Linked DNA regions of Homo sapiens: region 1 is linked to region 2. Evidence: promoter capture Hi-C in human tissues and cell types (Jung and others, 2019). All regions are on one chromosome and are shown on one strand. The core of a region is centred on a gene start or on the middle of the fragment in contact, and the rest is flanking DNA. Distances in the headings are between cores, read along the strand shown.

Evidence for each region. The method cuts DNA at HindIII sites, captures the fragments that hold promoters and counts their contacts. A contact is called where the count stands out against the background at its distance.
Region 1: a contact is called between a fragment that was not itself captured here and the fragment with the promoter of BMPR1B in region 2, in 1 of the 25 tissues and cell types used here (mesenchymal stem cells).

What each region holds. Positions count from the first base shown.
Region 1 is chr4:94,412,211-94,418,965 of GRCh38, forward strand. No RefSeq gene overlaps it. Among named protein-coding and RNA genes, the nearest start is that of PDLIM5, 36 kb to the right of the region's middle. RefSeq lists a silencer at 468-762. The HindIII fragment of the contact is 4,092 bases long and covers 586-4,677 here.
Region 2 is chr4:94,753,701-94,760,760 of GRCh38, forward strand. BMPR1B (bone morphogenetic protein receptor type 1B) reads left to right here and starts at 4,255. Exons shown (of 13, transcript NM_001203.3): 1 at 4,255-4,368. BMPR1B-DT (BMPR1B divergent transcript) reads right to left here and starts at 3,833. Exons shown (of 3, transcript NR_121610.1): 1 at 3,694-3,833; 2 at 1,130-1,205. The HindIII fragment of the contact is 6,502 bases long and covers 790-7,060 here.

The sequences.
Region 1 (6,755 bases), core at 1,382-3,881, 340 kb before region 2:
TTTTACTGGGAATTTTAATGTAAACAAGTTTGCAATGATTTTCATACCATCCTTGAAACCTCTGAGTCTTGTAAGCATCTCTAGGATTATGTAGAGGATTTCATTTGTTTTCCCCATTTTTTCTGTAGCCTAACTTAACATGACTAAGGTTCAAGGACATGGAAAATTAACCTTACACTTTGGAAACACAGATCAAGTGACATAGACTCAGTTTAAGAAGGTCATTTCATGACTCACTGATAATTATTTCAGGACAGATTTGATAATTGAGAGTGAGCCATGTTAGTCTTCAAAACAACGTAAGAAAAAGTTACTGATTTGCTTTTGGAAAAGCATATTCATCTTACATAGATAACAGGAAGGAAAATGGTGAGGCTCTTCGGGATTGCTTTTTTTTTTTTATGTTTGCCTTTGACAAGTGTATCAAAGGTTAATAAAGCCCTTTGGAATTTTGATTTTTGAAACACTAACACACGTAAACTTAAAAGCACTACCGGTTGATTAGAAGGTGGTACTTTTGGGTGTGAATGCTGCCCGTTTCACATGCAAACTGCGTCCAGCAAACAATCCTGGGAACAGAGCCAAGAAATGTCATTTCTCTCACTTTGTACTTCCATAATAAGTCTTCATCCCCAAATGCTTTCCCCTGTTCTGTCCGCTGACTAATCCACCCACTCAAAATCTTTCCTGTTTACACTGTAAAAGAATGGTATTTTTAAAACCTTTACTCCTTTAGCAAAAGCACCCAACATAAAGCCTTGCACACAGACACACGTAATAAATGTCATTTTGAAAATCTTTTAAAATAGATATCCCTTTATGAACTTCAAAGATCATGCAAAGGAATAAGTCAAAGCTAAACCCAGCAACTTGACTCTCCCTTCCAAATGTGTTACCATCAGAAAACACTAGAATCTGAGTGCAAGACTGAAACTCTGAAAGATTCTACCTTATTTAGCATGCAAGTTAGTCCTGTAATCCGTAGAATCAATATCAACACTTCAGAAGGATCTGTCCTGACTTGGCATAACATTTGATTTTTCTTAGCTTGTGAAATTGATCCTCTCCCTAACCTAGATTGTTAAACCTCATAGAAGACATTATTAGGCATGAGCAACAGTTTATTTCTGAAATCTGAATAAAAAATAGACATTTACTCACACAGTAGGTGATAATCCATGGCCATTTCCCTCATATAAACAAACTGCCCTCAACTAACTCCGGAAACCTCTTTTAATGATAGTTCTTGCAAAAGGTCAGCTAAAGTTTATTTTGCTTTCTTGCCTTTGTTGGAATTTTAGAAAACATGGTATCTTTTTAAAAAAGATTTTATGTAGCTCTCCATAAATCAGAATTGTTTGGCCATCTCTTCAGAGGCATAGCATTGAAGCAACTATAGTGTTTTCATTTTTCTCTACTGAAGGAACATTCTCATCCTGTGGTTTCAGAGAATATTTAGAAAGATAATCAAATAAATCTGCTTATCTTCTTTTCTACTTCCAACATAGACCCAATTTTGCAACATATTACCATCATTGGGTCAAACTGACCATGGCAAACACAAATTTTGTTGAATCAGTTTTAGTCTCTACCAAATCTACCACCCTCTGCCATCATATTCCACAGTTATGCCACTGTCCTGCCATTACACCTTGTAAAATCTTACAACAGGTTTTGTGAGATTTTTATTAAAACCTCACAGTACTATTTTGCCTCCCCCCTTATCTTTGTGGTTACCAGACCTTGCTCGTTTTCTTTATAGGTATCTTTCTGACACACCAATTTCCATTTGGAGCCATTCCTATTATAAGCCTTTGTAATTGACCACTTGACTAATATTTTGCCCTTCAGCTTCTCTCACCTTTAATCATCCTAAACGCTATTTGTCTTATAGTAAGATATCAGAAAATAATTGTAAATGTAAGCCACAGGTAACAATACATATAAGATATCGTTATTGTACAAACTTATCAAGTAATTAACATCAACTAAGCTTTGTTCTTACTCTAACACCCAGCACACCTGAGGCCAGGGCTTGGGAGGTGAGGCCTGGGTGCTCCACTCCCAGCTCAGGCTGCTAGCATTATTGGGGTGGGGGGTCATAGGAGGAAGGTCATTTCTGAAGACATACCAGAGATGGTTCATTAAATAACAGAGATCAGTGACTGTACCAAGCCAGGAGGGAATCTAGCTGTAAGTCTGTTCAAAGAAATGAGGGGACAAATGCAAGTACAGCAAGGCACTAAAGTTTGAACTCACACTTCAGCAAAATCAAAGGCAGTAGGATAAAGCAGGAGGGGAGCCTAAAGCAGGAAGAGATGAGATGTAGTGTGAAGAACAGGCCAGCCTACTCCAGGTAGTACCCCTACACTTTGCAGATCCTCTAGACCTTCGTTTCCCCACGACTCACTCAACCCGGATACTCAGCTCAAAAAATTTTGTTTTTCCCCCACTTCCTTTCTTTCTCTCCCTCCTCTTGCACATTTGCCTGACTTGATATAAGCAAAACCCAAAATCCAGTTTTCCAAATACATAGCTTTTCTTACATGGAGAGGAGAAGGGAAGGCTGGAACGAATAATTTCTTTTCCTTTGAATAGATACCCAGCAGTGAGATTGCTGTGTCAAATGGTAGCTCTATTTTTAGTCCTTTGAGAAACTCCAAACTGTTTTCCATAGAGATTTAACTAACTTACATTCCCACCAACAATGTATAAGCATTACCTTTTGTCCACATCTACACCAACATCTATTATTTTTTGACTTTTTAATAATGGCCATGCTGACTAATGTGAAATGGTATCTCATTTGCGATTTTAATTTATATTTCTCTGATCATTAGTGATGTTCAGCATTTTTTCATGCAGTTGGTGGTCACTTGTAGTCTTCTTTTGAGAAATGTCTGTTCCTGTCTTTTGCCCATTTTTTAATGGGGTTGTTTGCTTTTTTCTTGTTGAGTGGTTTGAGTTCCTTGTAGATTTTTGGATATTAGTCTATTGTTAGAAGCATAATTTGTAAATATTTTCTCTCATTCTGTAGGTTGTCCATTTACTCTGTTGATTATTTCTTTTGCTGTGAAAAGCTTTTTTTTTTTTTTTTGAGACAGAGTCTCGCTCTGTCGCCCAGGCTGGAGTGCAGTGGTGTGATCTCGGCTCACTGCAAGCTCTGCTTCCCGAGTTCATGCCATTCTCCTGCCTCAGCCTCCTGAGTAGCTGGGACTACAGGCGCCCACTGCCACACCCAGATAATTTTTTGTATTTTCAGTAGAGACGGGGTTTCACTGTGTTAGCCAGGATGGTCTCAATTTCCTGACCTCGTGATCTGCCTGCCTCAGCCTCCCAAATGTGCAAAAGCTTTTTAGTTTAAGTCCAATTAGTCTATTCTTGTTTTTGTTTCATTGGCTTTTGGGAAATTTCATCATAAATTCTTTCCCTAGGTCAATGTCCACGAGAGTTCTTTCCAGGTTTTCTTCTAGGATTTTTATAATTTTGGGTCTTACATTTAACTTTTTAATCCACCTTGAGTTAATTTTTGCATATGGTGAGAGATAAGGGTCCAATCTCATTCTTCTGCATATTGCTAGCCAATTTTCCCAACATCATTTATTGAATAGGCTATCATTTCCCCATTGTTTATTTTTGTTGACTTTATCAAAGATCAGTTGGTTGTAGGTAAGTGGCTTTATTTCTGTGTTCTCTATTTTGTTTCATTGATCTATAGGTCTATTTTTGTACCAGTAATATGCTGTTGTAATAATTATAGCCTTGTAGTGTAATTTGAAGAGGAACAATGTGATGCTTCCAGCTTTGTTATTTTTGCTTAGGATTGCTTTGGGTATTCAGGCCTTTTTTTGGTTCTTCATGAGCTTTAGGGTTTTTTTTTCTAATTCTGTGAAAAATGACATTGGTATTTTATTAGGGATTGCATTGACTCTGCACACTGCTTTGAGCAGTATGGTCCTTTTAACAATATCAATTCTTTCAAGCCATGAACATGGGATGTTTTTTCATCTGTTTGTGTCATCTATGATTTCTTTTATCAGCATTTTGTAGTTCTCCTTGTAGAGATCTTTCACCTCCTTGGTTAAATGTATTCCTAGGTATTTTATTGAGTGTGTGTGTGTGTCCATTGTAAATGAGATTGAGTTACTGATTTTGTTCTCAGGTCGAAAGTTATTCGTTTACAGAAATGCTTCCGATTTTTGGATATTAATTTTGTGTTCTGAAACTTTATTGATGTCATATATTAAGTCTAGGAGTCTTTTGGAGAAGCCTTTAGGGTTTTCTAGGTATACGGTCATGTCATCAGCAAACATATAATTTGACTTCCTCTTTTCCAATTTGGATATTATTTCTTTCTTTCTTTCTTTTGCCTGATTGCTCTGGCTAGGACTTTCAGTACTGTGTTGAATAGGTGTGGTGAGAGTGAACATTCTTGTCTTATTCTGGTTCTTAGAGGGAGTGCTTTCAACTTTTCACCATCCAGTAGGATATTGGCTATGGGTTTGTCATACATGGTTCTTATTATTTTGAAGCAATGATTTTTAAAGGCAGGAAAATATGTTGAAGCAATGATTTTTGAAAAGAATTTCATTTCAATGAATTTTGTGTACTATAATGCGTTATTGGGGAATCCATTCTATGTGCTAGTTATTCTTCTAGGTGGTTTATATGTAATGTCTTATTTATTCTTCACAACATTAATAATAGTATGAGGTAGGACCCATCGTTATCCGTAATTTACTAATCAAGAATCAGAAACATGTAGCAAAAACTTGTCCAAGATCACCAGGAATAAGTTAAGGAGACAGGATTCAAACACAGGTAGTTTGACAACTTAGACCATGTTGTAACTCCTCCCTCCACCTGTGCTACTGCTACTGCTTCAATGCAATGGACATCTGAGTGGAGAAAGTGTGATCAGTTACTCCAGTCATCATACTTGTTATGGCTGATTTTATGTGTCAACTTGACTGGGCCACAGGGTGCCCAGATATTTGATCAGACATTACTCTGTGTGTGTCTGTCAGGATGTTTTGGGGTGAGATTAGTTTAAATCGGTAGATTGTGTAAAGCAAATTAACCCTCCCTAATGTGAGTGGGCTTCATCCAATCAGTTGAATATAACAAAAGACTGACCCTCTCCTTAGTAGGAAAATTTTCTGCATACCTATCTTCAAAATGAAACATCAGTTCTTTCTGTTCCTCCAGCCTCTCAGTCTTCAGATTGGATGACACCATCAGCTTTTTTGGTTCTCAGGCTTTTGGACTCAAACTGGAACTACAGCATCAACTCTCCTGGGTCTCCAGCTTGCCATCTCACCCTGCAGATGTTGGGACTTGTCAGCCTCCATAATCTTGTGAAGCAACTCCTTATAATAAGTCTCTTTCTATATACATATACATTCTATCGGTTCTGTTTCTTTGGAGAACCCTGACTAATACAATACTTCATCTATGTATGCCATGGGGAATAGAGGTTATTTTTTCAGATTCTTGAACTTTCTCATGAGGAAAATTGGGAGACTATGACATTACTATCCCCTTAAAGACATTATTTTTAGCACCTTATACTATAACTCACTATTCTAAATTACAGGTCTCAGATGCGCACATGAAAAATGACCTTGAACTTCAATTTTCAAGTGATCAACTTAAACACTTAGGAGCTCAGCAACTGACACTTATATGTCAATTTAGTCATATAATTAACACTCTAGAAGTGTAGTTTTAGTACTGATCTGTTGTGATCTGCTTAAGTCTACTAAAATGTGGAAACAATTTAGGATTTTTAGCTCTTAATTGTAGTCCATTTTCAAGGAAAAGGTTATTTTTTCACTATTCATAATGTTCTGCCTCTAAAATATTTCATCTGTTTGTCTATATCTTGATTTTGCTCTTAGTCTCAAATGGAAATATTACATTCAGGTTTTTCTCCTTAAACAAGTCTCAAGTATTTCTCACATACTTTGCCATTTTTATTTCTACATTTGATTACCATATAAGCTTTTGAGTTTTCAAATTAAAATTTTTACACTTGGGAGATGTGCATTCAAGTGGTTAATTGATCAAGTATATTTGAAACAGCATTCTAATTTCAATAACCTGTGATTTAATTCCTTTTATAGTTATTTCAAGATATTGGTTCCCTGCTATTGATGAGCGAGTTTTGATATGAAACTTGTTCTTTCATTGTTAGCATTCTGAAGTCTAATTTAGGTGAAAAGCTAGTTATTTCCTTTACTTTATGGCCTCTTAAAGACTAATATTTGGAAATGAAGACTAGATAAATGTGAATCAAAAAATTAGGCTGTGCACTGTGGCTCAGCCTGCTAATCCCAGCACCTTGGAAGCCCAAGGATGGAGCATCATTTGAGACTGGGAGTTTGAGTTACATTGAACTATGATCCAGTCATTGCACTCCAGCTTGGGCAACAGAGCGAGACCTTGTCTCAAAAAATAAAAATACAAAACAGAACTCCTTGGGAATACAAACTAGGATGTTTATGTTTTCCTAAAGCTGTTATTCCTCTAACACAATAATATTTATAAACTGGAACCTCATTAGCTCTAATTACTCTCATCTTTATCTTCTTAAAAAATTAAATCAAATTAAGGCCTTTTCTTAGATTTTGAAACATTTAGATCCCCTCTCCCAATAACAGGAGTTCAAAGCAAAAACATTGCTTGGCAGTATAAAGCAGAAGTTAAAACAATTAGAGTTAGTCAATAGAATTGTTTAATCATTGTAATATCTG
Region 2 (7,060 bases), core at 3,005-5,504:
TGCCTTGCTTTCCTCAGTTGTAAAATGGAAATAAAATAATACCTTATTATGAGGCCTCAGGTTGATAATAAATGTGAGCTACTTAGTAGTGTGCCTGTATCATGGTAACCACTCCATAAATGTGGCTTTTATTATGGAAGGTACACATTTCACCAAGTTATTATATTAACAAGCAAAAATTTAAATACTCTGTTTGTTGAGAGGCTTAACCACTTATTTTGTATATGTAGAGTCAACATGTAGCAGTGGACAATAAGACAACCACAGCAGTAGGAACAGAAGAGCAAGAAAAAGATCTCTTTCTTACACTGAAAAATATTTCCTTCACCTGATTCCTAAAATACCATACCTGAAAAGAGGCAGACTTTTATTCCACAATTAGAGAGAAATAGTTTAAAAGCACATGTTCTAGAATGTTACTTAGCATTGTATGCCTTGATTTATGACAATATATTAATGGTGGTCAAATCCTTTACCTTCAGTTTTGAGAGAAGAGGGGGGTGGAAAAGGAAAGTGGTAGGAGTGAGGATATCCATGAAGAGGAAGGAGAAGGGGAGGCTGACAGCATAGAAGCAAGCTGTGTCCCCAGGTCTGTCCTATTTCTCTACTTATAAATTCCCCAAATAGTTCAATTCCAGTGGGCCTGGGCAAATGTCTTTCTTAATGGGAAATATGCCTGCAAGTGTTTGAGAGTCCTATATACACTGCCCTGGTTTCCTTATGTAGAAGCAGAGGGGAAAAAAATCTTGCTTTTGCTAAAATTTGTCATGCACCCAATGAAGCCCCTCCTTTCTATTCTTCTCCCCCCAGTGGTCTCTATTTACTTATTTATTTATTTAGATATGGTGTGGGCATGTGGGGGTCTCACTATGTTGCTCAGGCTGGTCTTGAACTCAAGGGATCCTCCCACCTCTGCCTCTGAGTATCTGTGACTACATGCATATGCCACCACATCTGGCTCCTATGGCCTTTAAAGGCACCAAAATCCAAGGCTACAGTTAGCAATATAGGAAGTGTCTTTTGAGTCTGCTGTCTTGGTAGTTACACCATTGTCTTGGTTCAAGTATTCCTTCTTTCAATGACAGACCCTTAATTAGTTTTGTGCTTTCATTTCTCCCTCTCCAGGTACCTCTAAATGATCTCCTGAAAATCCCAGTCCACCATTTGACTCCGTGGCTTACAAATCTCCAGTGCTTCTCCATTACCTAATAAGGAAAAAATCAATTTCATTAGTATGTTTGAGAAGGTTATTTCTGAACCCTGCTTAGCCTAAGAGAGTCATCTGCTGCACCTTCTCCTCATCACTTGGATAGCAGCACTGAGATACCAGCTGTTCTCTAAACACGCCATGCTTTTTCATAGGGTTCTCCTTGCTTAGGATGTTTATTCTCTTTCTAGCCCCGCTTTGATCTCTAAAGATCCTTCAGGACCCTTATGAAATGTGACTACTCTAGGAAGGTTTTCCTGAGATTTCTAGGCAGAATAGTTCATTTTTCTATGCTCCAAAAATTGTGTGTTCATGCATTAATGCACTTCTCATAGAAAGTTCTATATATTTTTTAAGTATCTTGTTTCTTCTGTATTATGAGTTTCAAGAAGGAATGGACAGAGTTTGCCTCTCAAATACCAGGACTTGGTTTGTCATAGGCACTCAAAAATGTTGATTTTTGAATAGCTTCTTTCCAAGGCTCCCCATTCCTGCTTACAGAAATGTTACCATCTAAGGCCCACCTCAAACACAGTTTCCCCTGTACCCCATTTTCTCCCACCTGGAGTGCTTTTTTTTTTTCATCCCAAAGACCTACAGGAATTTCCTTTGTTCTCTGATTTGGAATTTTAAAAAATATATTTAAACAAGGTATTTAAAAAAATCTGTCTCCTTGTCTGCAAGTTGATTGAAGTGGAATCTGTGTCTTCTCTATCCAGAGATGCCTGTATTCCCTGAATCAGTATCTTATACCCAGCAGATTCTCTGAAGGATATTTGCTGAATGGAGGAGTTAAGCCAAGGAAAGATAATCCTTAGTGCAACTTCTGAAAAGATACAGGTGACAATACCACTAGCTCCAAAACATTCTGCATAATGTCTGCTTTATTTCACTGCAGTTTATGAGTGCTCCAATTCTAAGGGAGATTATACAGCTGTCAAATACAAATTATCAGTAATTCACACAGTAGAAAGGATAGATTCAATCAGGTTTCTTTCCTCTTTAAACTTGCTTAATGTTGATGAGATATTGACAATGATCAACACATTACATTTTTAGTTCTATGGATTTCCAGTAAATTCTCTAAGCTTTTCTATGTATACAATCATAAGCTCTGTAATGAATTATAATTTGGTATCTTATTTTCAATATTTAAAACTCATATTTCTAAACTCACATTTCATTTTCGATAATTTATTATTTTTAGTTAATTACATAATAGCTCATAATTCCTTGCTTTGTCTTTTATTTTAATGGTGTAGAAGTTATAATTTCCGTGTCTTCAAGCCCCCTTCTCCCCACAAAACACTTAGTTAATATGAGGATGGAGATGATGAAAAATTGGATTGAGGACCAGGTAGAAGGTAATTTAGGTAGTCATATGCTTTATTGTTTTGAAAGAAAGGAGGTGGAAAAGGGAAGGGGTGGGAGTGAGGGTATCAGAGAAGAATTGGGATGAGAGTAAAATGAATGGATTTTATCTTGGAATTCTTGGGGCAAGAGGATGAGTACTGGTACTGGGGACTGGAACAGTGGTTGAATAAGGAAGGTCAGATGATGTCAATGACTAATTTCACTTGTTTTGGAAATTTTCTTTCAGATACCTTTCTTCTTCCAGTTTGGCATTAGAAATCACAATGCAGATATATCATGGGGCAAAAAGACCTTTGTGGAGACTCTAACATTGCTTTTATAGAAAAAACATGACCACATCTTCATACACTCAATAAACACTGGGGGCACCGCCTGCTTTAAGTGCAAGCTGCATAAAATAAATTGATACACAAATGAATTTTTTATTGATAAGTGCAAAAAGATTACATTTAATGTTTAAAAAAGATTTAATAGAAACAATTTAAGAAAAGGGAGTAGTTGAAAGAAAATAGTAGGCTAAGAATTGAATATAGAAATAGATATGAAGAAAATTGGAAGAAAGTTACTTCAGGGTGAAAAACTGTTAAAAAAAAAAATGACTTAGATCACACACTTGGTGGTGACCAGAGACTGTTTGTCAATATTTTGGAGGAAAAAAATTTTACAGAAGGAGAAAATAAGTAATGCTGGAGAGTGGGAAGCTGAAAGGTATTGAAAGGAAAAGAGTATTTGGAAGTCACGAGATATCTCCCTGGGAAATAGAGTTGGCAAAATGGCTGATTTTAAAGAGGTTAACTATTCTCCCCAAATTTCTGACTGTGAACTAGCTTACTTTATATTTACCCACTTAGAAAGTGTTTCAACACTTAAAGACTTAGCAAGGAGACCACAAAGTATAAGACGTTACATACTTTTCCAAAAGAAACACGACTAACTGTAAACTGTCATCAAATACAAATGGAATGGGTTTTCTCTTTTGGGTTTTATTTTTTTATTTTTAATTTTTTGGTGGTTGTTTTCGTTTAACGGTTTCAAAAAATATGTAGAAGGGAAATATTTCATTTCCCTTGGACGCTCAACTGTATATATTTCAAGATTCTTAAAACCCCCACCTCAAACTGCAGGCTTAATTTTAATGTGTTCATTTTTTACAAGGTGTGTCAACGTTTTATCAATTTCTGAAAAGTGTCTATGGCCCCGAAAAGTTGAAATCCACGACATTATATCATCTCTGCGAGCCCTTTCCAGCTCTCAAGGTACAATAATTCCACGAATCTTTGTTCTTCAAACCAGGAGGTTTTCTGGAAACCTTCTTAAACAACCAGGACAGGACCCATGAGGGAAATCTTGGGGATGCTCTGAGCAGCGGACGGGGCTTGGGAAGCGCACCCCTGTACCCGGGCTGCCTCCGGCCCGCACCCCGCCGCTCCCCAAGTCGGCTCCGCACTCCGCACACAGGCGGCGGCGCTGGGGCCGCTCCAAGTGCGTTGAGAAGTGTAATCCCTCCGCTAAGTACTTGGCTCTCAGTCTCCAATCACTAGTGGGAGCTGGAGAGGGCAAGTGAAAAAAAAAAATTCCAGAGGCAGCCGAGGAGCGAGAGGGAAAAAAAAAAAAAAAAAAAAAAAAAGTCCCGCGGTGGCGGCGGCGGCGGCGGCGGAGCGGCCGCGGCGGCCAGAAGTTGACGGCGCAGCCGGGCGCGGGGCGCGGAGTCGGCGGGGCCTCGCGGGACGCCGGGCAGTGCGGAGACCGCGGCGCTGAGGACGCGGGAGCCGGGAGCGCAGCCGCGGGTAAGGCGCGCGCGGCGGGGCCCCGTCCCCTGCGGGTGGCCGAGTTCCCGAGCGCGCGGGAGGCGGCCGAGCCGGCGAGAGCCGGGCAGAGCGAGGGGCGGCGCGGGACGGGTAGCGGCTGGGTGCGGAGCTGGGCGGCGGTCGCCCTAGGCAGGACGGAGCGCGCGAGGGAGAGGGCGAGAGCGAGGGCGGGCTGCGCGGCCGTGGGGCGGTGGCGGCGGCGGGGAGGGGGTCAGGCGGTGGCCGCCTCGGCTTTGTGCGCGGGCGGCTCTGCCGGGACCCCGAGGCCTCGTGCCTGCGCAGGCGAGGAGTCGGGGCAGCGGCGGCGGCGGGCGGGACACGTGCTTCGGGCTGTAGGGACGCCCCAAGGCAGGGAGTCGGACCTGCGAGCGGAGGGATGGGGCGGGAGGGCGAGCTGAGGGCAGTCGCGGAATCCGGGAAATGGGAGGGAGCCCGGCGGGGCGGGGGCCCAGGGCCAGCCCAGGCGGGACCCGCAGGCACCCACCTGCCCCGGACGCCTCCCGAGACCCAGCCTTGCCGTGGGGGAAAGTGCGCAGCGGGCTGGTCCCGGCGCCTTGGACTGGGCTCCGTCTCTGCTTCAGTTGCCTGTCTCTTCTCCTCTCTCTCCTGCTTCTCTCTCTCTATGCCTCTCTCTCAAGTTCTGGGTCTTTCATTCTCTCCCTTTTCTTCCTTTCTCCCTTCCTCTCCTTATTGCTATCCTTTGCCTCTCCCCCCGGTCTCTCTTTCCTTCCGTGCGTCTGTCTCCCTCTCCCCACCGCCTGCTCTGGCTCTCCCAGTGTGTCCCTCCTCTGTCCCTTCATCCTCTTCCCTCTGTCACTTTCGCACAATCTTTTGGTCTCTCTCTCTCTCTCAAGAGGCTTTCGCTCCCGGTCTTCCTGGCTCCCCTGTCTCTTGCTCTCTGCGCCCATCTCTCTGCTCGTCCCTCTTTCTGTCCAGGCTCCGTGTTTCCGCCTGTGTTTGGCGGTGTTGGAGAAGAGCCTCTGGAAGTTGTCCGCTGTGGTGCGGGTCTTACTTCTTTAGAGCTGCACCCCTCCAGCTGGGTCCTGCTGTTTGTTCTGAATGGAAACGCTGCAGTTCCCTTGAGTTATTAGAAACTGCTCTTTTCTTAGCCACCTTTCCAGCAAGGTGAGGTCAGTGACTACGAGCGGCCACAAAGGTGCCAGTGAAAGACAACGGAGGAAGAGAGCCGTTTCACTACCTCCAACAGATAAAGAAAATGTGTTAATACCAAACTTACCTGCAGCAAAGCAGAGCCACCTGAGAAAAGGTTCTTGAGTTCTGCAAAGAAACATAAAAGGCTCCACTGGAAATGAGAGGGTTCAGCTAAAAAGTGTTTGCAAATAATTTGAAAAAGCACTTAATGGAAATCTCTTGCTGTGCTAAATTGATGCCAACGAATCTCTGTTTTCTTACATATATTTTTAGGATTCCAGTGACAACTCTCCTAATTATTGTTTTGGGCAAGTTATGGGAAATGTCCTGTGTCAACTGGGATGTTAGTATTTAAGAAAATATTCAGTCTTTGTACTTTATACCCCTTTACACTCTAGTGATCAAGAAGAATTATTTCTAGCTGTAAAGAAAATAGTAAAGGATTCGTCAGTAATTTTAAAACATGAGACATGCCGGTGATCAATAATGTTTTTGGAAAACTTTCATTATAAGGATGTTTTGAAGGATGTTACATCTTAGTGAAATATGTAAGTTATTACACACTTAGATCATTGTGCAATGCAAAAAAGTTTGTGTTATAAGCAGATCATAGTAGTGATGTCTTTTTATGGGAAACATAGCTGGGAAATTAATTGCTCTGATTTTCACTGTTTTCTTTAGTCATGCATAATGTACCTTTGTGTTTAGCAAAATATGGCCTAGAGCTACAAAACTTGATACAGTGTGTTATTTGTCCAATCTGAATTACCATTTAGAAAACCACCTTTTCCTTTTAGTTACATGATATAAGTTGATATGATCTCATTACTCATGTGCTAGGGGCCGCTGATGAATTTTAATGGCACTGATTTGTGTTTTTAAATCAAAATGTTAGTTTTTGGTGAGTTAAAATCTTGATTTATGTCATGTTAGTGAATCATCACTATTTATAGGGGCTTTGCCACCTTGTCTGCCAGGTGCTGCCCAGCATTTAGTCTAGGCTAGGTTGTCTGAAATTCCCTGTTAGATTATTGTCCCTGAGTGACGTGCTGCCACGGCCTGCTTATGTATGTTTCTCTAAATGTTCCAGTCGTTAAATAATATTTATTAAAAGGAAATTGACTTAAATTTTTCCTCATAAGCTTTGGGAACTGTGTGAGATGGCCTGATAAAGTATTTTTATTACAGTAAATGCTGATTTATTATTATTTGTTTAAAAGTATAAGGCAGTTTAAAATGTGCTTATCTTTTGCCACATATAGCACCTCCTCCAGCTCTTTCTGAGCACTCAAATCGTATTTATCATCCAAATCTAAAGTCAGTTGTCACCTACTCCAACCTAGCAGAGCCTTCCTGATTTTCAGAAGCCCCCTCACCACTGCCTCTGCCTCTCAGGCTTCTGAGTGCCCCTCTTTCGGTGTCCACCTCTGTGCTGTATGGTTACTTGCTTGGCGCTTCCTTGTTGGACTGTTATCTCATTGAGGTGAGATAGTGTCCCTTGTTTCTTTTTCTCTGAATT